Regions from separate parts of the Homo sapiens genome. Here all the other regions are linked to region 1. Evidence: promoter capture Hi-C in 16 types of primary human blood cells and fetal thymus (Javierre and others, 2016). All regions are on one chromosome and are shown on one strand. The core of a region is centred on a gene start or on the middle of the fragment in contact, and the rest is flanking DNA. Distances in the headings are between cores, read along the strand shown. Region 1 holds the start of IL1B (interleukin 1 beta). Region 2 has its middle 8.6 kb from the start of IL1RN. Region 3 has its middle 11 kb from the start of IL1RN.

Region 1 (3,754 bases), core at 877-3,376:
GCAGCCAACAAGTTATGCCAGTCTTAAAACTTCTAAAGAAATATGTTTTTAACAAGATTGAGGACTGGATTATGAGGCTAGGGGAGGCTATCACAAACTGGAATAAAATAAAGCCAGAGAAAAGTGGCTGCCTCCCAACCTGCACAACTGACCTAGCTAGGCTGATGGCTGGGCCACCTAGGAAGGCTACTGAGCATCATATAAAACAGAAGGGACAGCAGGAATATAACATGGCTCTTTGTAAGGATGAGTCTGAAAAATGACCATTTGCTGCCCAAATGCCCTTAGCTACAACTGAAAATATTTCAGAACTGGAGGTTGCAGGATGCTGGAATCTCAGAGATCATCCAGCTCAGCCCTTTATTTTTCAGATGAGGTCCAAAGCGGGTAAAATGACTTGTCAAGGTCAAACAGCAAGTGAATGGTTTTCTTTCAAGTCTCAATTCATCTTTTTGTTTATATCATCTATGTCTTGTTGTTATAAGCTTCACCCCAGGTAGCAAAAAACTATTCTACTCAAAAGGGGTAGACATATGTTAGTTCTCAAGATCATCTCTTGGTTTCAGAGTTTAACTCAAGTGATTGGCATAGGCTGAATCCATCTCTTAAAAGGATAATCAAATTTATGTTGAAGACTTGGTTGTCTTCCTACTATGAAATGGGAAACATTATCACTACTCCTCCCCTGTCACCACCAAGTGTGGCCACCACCACCAACGTTAGTGAGTGACTGTGGTGATATGATGACCAAGTGGCCAGGTCAGCAAGTGGTGCAGCCTGTGTCTCACTGGAAGAGGTTAAAGTCTTTCTAAAACAAAATACCATGGCATCAAAGTGGCCCAGAACTCCCTTCTTTGAGCTTTCCCTGTGTTAGAGCCCTTCCTTGGGTTGGGAGTTAAACCCATAGTCTTACCTTCATCTGTTTAGGGCCATCAGCTTCAAAGAACAAGTCATCCTCATTGCCACTGTAATAAAAACAGGGACATGTCTCAATTATGTCTTCTAAACAGGTTTATTTTTCCTTCCCTGTGTACAAGACTTGACTGTTCATAAGAAACTGCAAACAGCCTGCCTCTCAAAGCTGCCTGAAACACCTGGCAAGTTTCACAGTGATATGCGCAGAACAGTCCAGAAGGCAGATTCTAGGCCTGGCAGGTGGGCACCCTGGGTGCTCCCTGTTGGATCTTGAGGCCTAACCTCTAGCCCAGCAGAGTCAGCTAAAATCTGAGCTCTCCCTCTCCCTCCAAGCCACACTTTGCAAAGGGATTCCTTGTATTGTGGGCTTGGAGTCTTTTCTCCCCATTTGCCTCTGCAGGAAGCCCTTGCAACAACACATCTGGATAGCCTCCAGGTCCCAAGGCTGGAGGGACTTGTAATGGGAAAGTAGTCTTTAAATCAGATTTACTTGGCACCCTGTTTGCCACTGAAAGAGGCAATTTAGGGGAAAAATCTGGTCTCCAAGCACAGATAACACTCTACTCTTGAAAGAGGAGACCTGCTCATGTTACTGGTCTCAGCGTCTCCACTGACCTGTAATAAGCCATCATTTCACTGGCGAGCTCAGGTACTTCTGCCATGGCTGCTTCAGACACCTGTGTAAAAAGGAGAAAATGAGTGACTTCCCCATGACGGCTACGTTCATGTGTGATTTCTCTCAGCATCCAGTGCATGGCAGTCATGCAAAGAAATGATCTCTGAGTAAATGAATGAATGTGTGAAAGAGAAGTCCTTTGGGTCTAGAGAAAAGCATTTGCTAAACCAAACCCCAACTAGCAATGTATTGGCTAGGAGAGCTGGAGCAGAGGCTTTGACACTAACCTTTAGGGTGTCAGCTGTTAGATAAGCAGTATCCATTCCCAGAATATTTCCCGAGTCATAAGCATTATATTACACCTGGCATTTTTGCAAAAAGCTGAGAGAGGGAGGCAGAGAGGGAAGGAGAGGGAGAGACAGAGAAAGAAAGAGAGAGAGAGAGAGAATATGCATACACACAAAGAGGCAGAGAGACAGAGAGACTCCCTTAGCACCTAGTTGTAAGGAAGATTAAAGTCATACTTGAGCAATGAAGATTGGCTGAAGAGAATCCCAGAGCAGCCTGTTGTGCCTTGTGCCTCGAAGAGGTTTGGTATCTGCCAGTTTCTCCCTCGCTGTTTTTATGGCTTTCAAAAGCAGAAGTAGGAGGCTGAGAAATTTCTCTGTTGAATACCTGATTTCACAATCAAGTTAAAGGAAAGGGGAAAAGAGTATTGGTGGAAGCTTCTTAGGGGAGGGGACTAATAAACTGAGATAATTCTCTGGTTCATGGAAGGGCAAGGAGTAGCAAACTATGACACATTTTGCAAATGTATCACCATGCAAATATGCATTGTTTTCCTGACAATCGTTGTGCAGTTGATGTCCACATTAAAATACTGGATTTTCCCACGTTAGAAGAATGTTTAAATTTAGTATATGTGGGACAAAGTGGAAGACACACAGATTTATACATGCACATACTTTTCTTCATTCACTTCTTTGTACTTAAGTTTAGGAATCTTCCCACTTACAGATGGATAAATGGGTACAATGAAGGGCCAATAGCCCTCCCTGTCTGTATTGAGGGTGTGGGTCTCTACCTTGGGTGCTGTTCTCTGCCTCAGGAGCTCTCTGTCAATTGCAGGAGCCTCTGAGGAGAAAATTGACCTTTCTTGGCTGGGGCAGAGAACATACGGTATGCAGGGTTCAGGCTCCTGACGGAGTTGGGGCAACCCTGGAGATAAGCTCACACAACCCTGCAAGACCAGGTGCTGTTACCCTAGCCAATCTCATGGATGAACCAGATCAATGCCAGATGAGCTCTGCCTAAAATGATTTTTTGGTGAACTCTGAAAAGTGGAATATTGTTTCTGTAAGAATATCCATCTGAGACTCTATCTCTTGGTAATACCAACCAAGAGTTATCAGTTTCTCTTTAACCGAGACACCAGCAAAGTGCCTGCTCCAGGGTACTGCCCAGGGGAGCCCTCCATTTGTAGAATGAATGAGAGTCCAGGTTATGAACAGTGCCTGGAGTGTAGGAACACCCTCCTTTGCCTCTTTGACAGGTCTGCATCATAACACTTTTTTTTTTTTTTTGAGACAGAGTCTCACTCTGTCGCCCAGGCTGGAGTGCAGTGGCACGATCTCGGCCCCCTGCAAGTTCCGCCTCCCGGGTTCACACCATTCTCCTGCCTCAGCCTCCCCAGCAGCTGGGACTACAGGCACCTGCCGCCACGCCCGGCTAATTTTTTGTATTTTTAGTAGAGACAGGGTTTCACCATGTTAGCCAGGATGGTCTCGATCTCCTGACCTTGTGATCTGCCCGCCTCGGCCTCCCAAAGTGTTGGGATTACAGGCGTGAGCCACCGTGTCCAGCCTGTAACACTTCTTATAGCACTGAGTTGAAACCTTGCTCCTCCTGGTTCCTCCAGGAAACTGAAATCTTTTTGAGCCAAGTCTAGCACAGTGCCTGGCATGTACATTCAGGTGGTAGAGTTTGCTGCTTGAATGGGTGAATGGGAATTTGACAGCATTTTTATTCAAATTAGTATGTGCCAGGTATCGTGCTCGCTCTGCATTATCCAAGGGAGTGAGCCTCTGTGCAAGTATTTGAGACACGAGGGAAATAGGTTCTACTGTGGGAAAAAGAGCATTTCATGGACTTGCTCTCCAAGCAGCCTTCTGATTTTTAATTTGGCTCCCAGTATCTTGATATCAGGAGTCAGTCACAAGAACT
Region 2 (3,754 bases), core at 631-3,130, 300 kb after region 1:
GAATGAATTACAGCCAGCTGCACCTCACAAGACAGATAATCTTACAAACATCATGTGGGTACAAGAATCACAAAAGCATGCATAGAGTGTGATTCCATTTCTACAAAGTTCAAAACGGGCAACATGGGGCTGTTGTGTGGAGGGCTGTGGAAACAGGTGGTGCAGAGAGAAGCAAGGCCATGCTCTGTCTGAAGGCCCAGTGACACTTGGCCCCTGCGAGAGAGAGTGGCAGGCAGGAGCACCTGGGGGATTTTAGGGTCCAGACAACATTCTATTTCTTGGCATGGATGCAGTTAGGCGGTTTTCTGTATGTATATTTTATTTCACAATACCTAGAAAATAAAAAGACTTGCCCCCCAACAACCAGGGTGTAAAGAAAGGAGCATCTGGGAAATTATGAGATTAGTGAATGGAGTATTGAATTTGTCCCCATAGGTGGGAGTGCAAGACCATGAGTGACCACTTATCAAACACACCTCAGTAAACAGTCAGGAGAGTGAGGAGTGTGGTCCTTTCACCTGCCCAGGTTGTTTCTGTTAGATTCTGGGCTTGGTCTCTGGAGTCCAAGAGGCAGGCCCCAGTGAGGTCATGCACTTGCTGTCTGATTTTGGCCAAGTCACCTCCCTTTGTGGGGACTGTTCCTCATTTGTTTGAGGGGAATGTTGATTTGGATGGGGATTTTCCAAACAGAGCTCCTTGGACCCTTCCCTCTAAGGTCTCTGGAAATGGGAAACCCTGCAGAGGGGAGGATAAATGGGCCAGGATTCATCCCTTGAACCCTGTTCCCAACAGAGCCCTCTGTTTTTCTCTTCTTTACAACTTGGACCTCCCATGGGACTTTGTTTGAAAGGGAGACTTCATTGCTAAAAGCAAACTAAACTAAATAGGCTAAAAGGCAACAAACTGGAGAAAATGTTTAAGGTCTTCTCTAGATCTAAGATCCTATGACGTTGAGGAGGTCATCCAACATCTCTGAGTTTTCTCTTTCTTGTATATAAAATGGAAGTAGCTGGCAGGGCAGGGCATGTGTCGTTGATATATTTTTAATCCTGGTAAAAGGAGGAGGTTCAAGGCAGAAAACTCATCAAAGCTTAATGACAACAATAGCAGCTAACATTTGTGAGGCTCTAAGGTAAAACCCAAGGCTAAGACTCTTCATGCAAACTAGGTCAAGCAGCAAGCTACAGGTTAGAAACAGGCAAGGCAGCAAAACAGTCACATGGGTGAACTCTGGGACTCTGCAGTCACACTCTGACTCTCCTGCTTGCACTGGGTGCTCATAAGCAAGCTAGTTAACACCTCAGAGCCTTGGTTTTCCCACCACTAAATGCAAATAATAGGCAATGCTGAGTTATTGCAAAGTTACTTAATCTTTGCAATAGCCTTCTGTGGTGAGTGGCATATTCTTATTATTATTATTAGTCCTAGAAGAGTCAGTGCTCAAAGGAATCTGCTTTAGAGCCTTATTGCTCCAAGTGTGGTTCATGCATCAGCAACATCAGCATACTTCTGGAGTTAAAATGCAGATTCTCAGATCTCAGGCTTGACTTACTGACTTAGGGTCATCATCTTAACCAGATCTCCCATGCACATTAAATTTGAGAAGCACTGTTTTAAAATGCATTAGCCGGGTGCAGTAGTTCATGCTTGTAATCTCAGCACTTTGGGAGGCCGAGGCAGGTGGATCACATGAGGTCAGGAGTTCGAGATCAGCCTGACCAACATGGTGAAACCTCATCTCTATTAAAAATATAAAATTAGCTGGGCATGGTGGCGCATACCTGTAATCCTAGCTACTCAGGAGGCTGAGGCAGGAGAATCACTTGAACCTGGGAGGTGGAGGTTGCAGTGAGCCGAGATCACACCATTGCACTCCAACCTGGGCAACAAGAGCAAAACTCTGTCTCAAAATAAAGAAAGAAATAAGATAAAATAAAAAGCATAAATCGCACAATGCATAAGTTTTGGCATACGCACTAGCATAAAGGGATTCTCCTACTTATAAACCTAGCCCATCTCCTTACTCTCTATCACACTAGCCCATTGATGACACCAAAAACTCCCCTCTTAACACTTTAGCTGGGCATGGTGGTTCACGCCTGTAATCCCAGCACTTTGGGAGGCTGAGGTGGGCAGAGCACTTGAGGCCAGGAGTTCAAGACCAGCCTGACCAACATGGCAAAACCCTGTCTCTACTGAAAATGCCAAAAAATTAGCCAGGCATGGTGGTACATGCCTGTAATCCCAGCTACTTGGGAGGCTGAGGCATGAGAATCACTCAAACCTGGAAGGTGACAGTTGCGGTGAGCTGAGATCATGCCACTGCATCCCAGCCTGGGTGATAGTGAGACCCTGTCTCAAACAAACAAAAAAACAAAACACTTCCTTACTTTGGTTTAAAGTGTTCCATAAAATATTCCTAAGAGGAAAAACTTTAAATCATCATCGTGCTGCTAGAATGTCAGCTCAACCCATGCAGATATTTTTGTCTGTTTTGTTCTACAGTGTATCTCAAGTGCCAAGGCCATTGCTTGCGATATACTGGGTGCTAAGTGAATATCTGGCCAGTGAATAAATGAATTGGCCACTGATATATCAATATGGATTAATTTATTCGACAGGTCAGCAAATTTGAGAAGACTGGGGACTTGGATCAGGAATATTTTGAAGGAAGCTTAGAAGAGGGAAAAGGCCCAGAGTGAAGGATTTTTCAGATATTTGGAGGTTAAGAAAAAAGATATGACCACGAGGTGGCGGTAGCACACATAGGCTTTCGGGTTGATGCTTTAACAGGTTTACACTGGGGAAGGTCCTTTATAGCAGGAATTGGTCAAGGAGGCTATAGTGTGGAGATGGGGTCCTACTCAGAGGGGAAGGAGGGCAAGAGGACTCCTAGGAAAGAAGAGAATTGGAAAGGGGGCTTACATGGCCAGGTGAAGTCACCCAGCAGCACAGCAGGGAATCTCTGGGTCAGAGAGCTCCTATGGGCTGCAGTGGCTTGAGGCCTTTATGGCTTGGGGCTTATCCTTGGCCAGCAGATATTGGATACAGTTTCATGGAGTATACAGAGCAGGCAGGTTCTAAATGGATTACCATAGGCTTATTGGGGCTATGTTTAAAGCAAGTGGATGTGCAAACATTTGAGTTTGGCTTGGTGGGGTATTCCAGGTCTGGTCTCAGCCTGCGGTGAGGAAATTAATAATCAAGGGGCCAGCACTTTATATAGCACAAGGCAGGGGCCATGGATTAGGAAAGCCAGGCCTGGGGTTCATGCTTAAGTGAGGCTTTTGTTCAACTGGGAGGCGGTGCACAGGTGACTGGGAGGTGGAGGGGCTGAGATGGGAGAGAAAAGCACAGAGAGGGAAGACAAGCAAGCCTCAAGAGGATTGTGGCTTCTTCCGTCACTTCTGGGCCTGATCTACTACAACACTACAGAATCAAGGACAACTGTTTGAAAATTCAAGGCTGAATTCAGGTCTTTCATTGGTGAGTCAGAGTTTTCCTACAGACTCCCTGGGGGGCCCTTGGCCAAGCAACCTCTCCTCCCTAGGCCTCAGTTTTCATAAAAGGAGGGAATTGAACTAGATATGTGTCTTCATCAGGCTGACCTGCAGGAGCTTTTTACCAAAAGTGGCCTACCTCCTCCATCCAGAGGTTCTGATTCACTTGATCTGGGTGTGGGACAAGGACATCATGATGCCAGGGCTGAGGCCCTGTGGACCACATAGCTCCTAAGTCAGGGACCCTGAGGTCA
Region 3 (3,754 bases), core at 620-3,119, 280 kb after region 1:
AGTGGTGGTTTCCCATTTATTTTTCTATGGGCCAAATCCTGGGCTATGAGCTGGAGATATAAGAGTAAACAAAATAGACACGGTGCTTGCTGTGACCTGCCCTGGGAGACAGATATTACACGGAGGATCACATAAATGCAGAGTCTGAGCTGAGGTCTTAAGGGTGAGGATAAGTAACTAGTCAGTGGAGCAGGGGAGGGAAGGGTGTTCCATGCCTGTGTCAAGGTCCTGAGGTGAGAGAAAGAGGTGAATTTGAGGAACCAAAAGGAGTTCAGGGAACAAGAGGGGCTGTTTCACAAGCTGAGTCTGGAAGCTGAGCAGGCTGAGCAGATTCTTAGGAACTCTGCAAAAACTTAAGGGCTTGTCTATGACCGTAAACAACTACGGTCGTAGATAAACAAGTTGGCAAACAACTCAAGGATTTACAGTCATCAGAATTGTAAAACTGATCCCATGTATTTTCAAACCTCAAATCCCTTGCTCTGACCTTGTGTGTCTAAGCTAGAAGGAAGCAGGATGCACCTCTCCCCTGGCTGGAATGAAGGGATTCACCCAAGCTCTCAGTCTTCTCACGGCATCCAGGGCCCCCCTGCTTGTGTGTGGTCTAGATTTCCATTCCCATAGTAGGAATTCCTTTGGGAGCCTTGGGGTCTCTCCTGCTAGAGGGCTTCACCTGTGACTGTCTCAATTCAAGGGAGGGGTTCTAATAACATTAAACCTCAATATCTTGCTCCTCCATTCCTGATGCCTCCCTTTCCTTCTACCCTTCCCCTACCTCCTTCTTTCCTATGCCACAGGCTGGCAGGTTAGTGCCAGAGCAAGTGGCCAGTCACCATCATTGGGGTTGTGGATCCTCAGGGTTCTTCAGAAGCCCCTTCACCATGATCAAGAGTCTCCAGTCACTCAGAATTCCACGGTTCCCAAATGCCAGCTCTCCCACTACTCCCAGCGTTCTCCATCTCTGGGATGTTGGGCTCCAGGCTTCTCAGATGCACTGAGTACCCTAGGCTAAGCCACTGATCCATCAGAACTTCATAGCCTGAGAGGAGAGGGAGACAGGCTTGCAAAGGAGAGTTCTGACTAGACACTGGGGTGCTACAGATGCCCGTAAGTTGTCCCTTTACCCTCGATGTCCCCAGTGTTGGGACCACCTGGGAATGCCCAGCCTTGTGTGCTGATTGACTTGTAGTCCCCTGGCCCTGACTGGAAGCCTAGTTTTCTCTCTCATGACCAGCTAGGCCCCTAGCTCCCCAGGGAAGAAATCCAATCTATTTCCTCTGATAGTAATGGCTAATACTTAAATAATGCCAACCACATGCCAAGCACTTTACAGTTGTTAGCCCAGTCTTCACAAGCACCTTGTGAGGTGGGCAAGAGTCTTATCTTACTCTCATTTTATAGATGTGGCCCAGGATCCCACAGCTATAGTTCATGGTGCTGGGATTTGAACCTCTGGCCACCAGAGCCCACCTTAATGTGTCCTCCTCCTGTTGTCATAACAGAAAAGTACAACACCATGATGACACATCAGGCTATCCTGGCAGGTTCCCAGGCTGCCCCAATGCCCAACTTTCTAGGTTTACAAAGTTGACATTTACGAAGTTTCCAGGTTTACAAATCTAGTTTCTGATTCTTTAGTCAGCAGGAATTTCTCTACAAAAGCTGCTTCGAAAATTTCCAGCCAAACCTTACACACCTTGGCATTACATCTTGGTGAGCCAAGGCGGAAGAGAACAGGAAGTGAAGGCCCCATGGGAAGTCCCTGCGGTCGGGAGCACCCAGGCGGGGCGGGGGGTGGGGGGCTTTCCTGTGGCCGGCTCCCTGCCCCTCCCACCCCCATTCAGGCCCTGTGAGTTGAATGAAGAGACCCTGGGAATGAGTCCAGGTCTGCAGGGTTAGAGGAAATTGAAGGCCCTTACCAGATCCCTGTTGAGAAGTTTATGAATTATGAGCCCTTCTGCAAATGAGAGGGTTCTTCCCTGTCAGGAGGGACAGATTGTAGGTGGCAAGATTGGTGGCAGCCAGTAGGCTGGTCTGCTCCTTCCTCTCTATTTCATATGTGTATGAAGGCATTACCTGCAGCAAGGGCCTGTGTAAATGCATGTGATTTACAGAGCATTTTATGTACTGCGTGTCATTCATGCTTCCGGTGAGCCCTAAGTCTAAGATAGGGCAGATAGCATCAGGTCCATTTTGCAGCTGTCAAAATGAGGTCTGAAGGGCAGAAGTGGTGTGCCCACACACACACAACTGGTTGGCTGCAGACCTGGGGACTAGACCCGGGACTTCGTCCTGCCCAGGGGTCTCTTGCCACTGCTCCCCATCAACTTGGATGGCTTTAAGCATTTGTGAGTTGTCTGCTCCCTGATGGCAGAATGCAGAGACATGAAGCTACAAGCAGGTTCGCTCCCAACGGCAAAAAGGAGGAGGGGTGTTCAGAACATCAGGTGCTTCTAGAGAAAGCAGGGAGAGAGTATCTGGCCTTGTGGACAATGTCACGGCAGAGGCCAGGTATAGGGCATGGGGGTAACTGGAAGCGGGATGGACCCTGTTATTCCCTAAGACATGGCTTCCACGTAGTGCTCAAACAAGGCCTTTGCCCTTGCTGTTCCCTCCACCTGGAATATTCTTCCCCTTCCTTGACATTGCTCAGGTCTCCACTCTTATGTCACCCTCTCAGAGAGGGCTTCCCTGGCCACTTTCCCTAAAATAGCCACCCACTCCTAGGTCCCTCAAAAGCATATCCTGCTTTGGATTTTCCCTATAGCAATATGCCCTATGAAGTTATTTTATTTGCTAACTTGTTTCTTGTCTGTTTTCCTTTGTTAGAGCGTTGGGGACCTTGTCTGGCTTGTTCCCAATGCCTGGAAGAGTGCCTGGCACACAGGATTAAGCCAACACATATGTTTTGAATGAATGTGTGCACACATGCATGAGCTGGCGGCAGTCGGGGTTGGGGTAAGCACGAAGGCCCAGCTCAGTTCTCTGCATGTGACCTCCCATCTTACGCAGATAAGAACCAGTTTGGTTTCTGCTAGCCTGAGTCACCCTCCTGGAAACTGGGCCTGCTTGGCATCAAGTCAGCCATCAGCCGGCCCATCTCCTCATGCTGGCCAACCCTCTGTGAGTGTGTGGGAGGGGAGGCTGGGCTCCTCCTTGTACTCTCTGAGGTGCTCTGGAAGGAGGGGCAGCTCCACCCTGGGAGGGACTGTGGCCCAGGTACTGCCCGGGTGCTACTTTATGGGCAGCAGCTCAGTTGAGTTAGAGTCTGGAAGACCTCAGAAGACCTCCTGTCCTATGAGGCCCTCCCCATGGCTTTAGGTAAGCTCCTTCCACTCTCATTTTTTCACCTGAGAAATGAGAGAGGAAAATGTCTACAATTGGTGTTTATCAAATGCTTTCAGGCTCTGGTGAGCAAGCGTCCAGGAAAATGTCAAGCGCATGGAGCTCCAGGCCTGTCTGGGGGATCTGGGCACGGGGAGGCATCCATGGGAGACCATGCAGGCACTCTGAGGCAGGGGCTGCAAGCCTAGTGCCTGCTGGGGCAGCAGGTGAACAGAGAGGTGTAACTGCTGTGACAGAAGTCATGGAGTCCTTGGAGTGTGAGGGTCATTTTCCACTGTTGATAGAATAGGGAAATTGGTGAAATAGCCCTGTTAAATGAGAGAAAGAACAGTGTGAGCTCAATGAGAAATACTAATAGAATGTGGCACTGAGCCACAAGGTCTGAGGGTTGATTGATAAGGAAGGGTGG

The links. Contacts are between HindIII fragments. The CHiCAGO score rates a contact against its expected background, and 5 or more counts as called.
Region 2: a contact is called between a fragment that was not itself captured here and the fragment with the promoter of IL1B in region 1, in 1 of 17 cell types (M1 macrophages). The highest score is 5.8, in M1 macrophages.
Region 3: a contact is called between a fragment that was not itself captured here and the fragment with the promoter of IL1B in region 1, in 1 of 17 cell types (M1 macrophages). The highest score is 5.1, in M1 macrophages.

Annotation. Positions count from the first base shown.
Region 1 is chr2:112,834,653-112,838,406 of GRCh38, forward strand. It overlaps IL1B (interleukin 1 beta), which reads right to left and starts at 2,127. Exons shown (of 7, transcript NM_000576.3): 1 at 2,056-2,127; 2 at 1,531-1,592; 3 at 914-965. The coding sequence starts at 1,577. The HindIII fragment of the contact is 1,771 bases long and covers 484-2,254 here.
Region 2 is chr2:113,134,314-113,138,067 of GRCh38, forward strand. No RefSeq gene overlaps it. Among named protein-coding and RNA genes, the nearest start is that of IL1RN, 8.6 kb to the left of the region's middle. RefSeq lists a silencer at 1,154-1,303. The HindIII fragment of the contact is 1,584 bases long and covers 1,089-2,672 here.
Region 3 is chr2:113,114,708-113,118,461 of GRCh38, forward strand. It overlaps a transcript of IL1RN not described here. Among named protein-coding and RNA genes, the nearest start is that of IL1RN, 11 kb to the right of the region's middle. The HindIII fragment of the contact is 6,409 bases long and covers 1-3,754 here.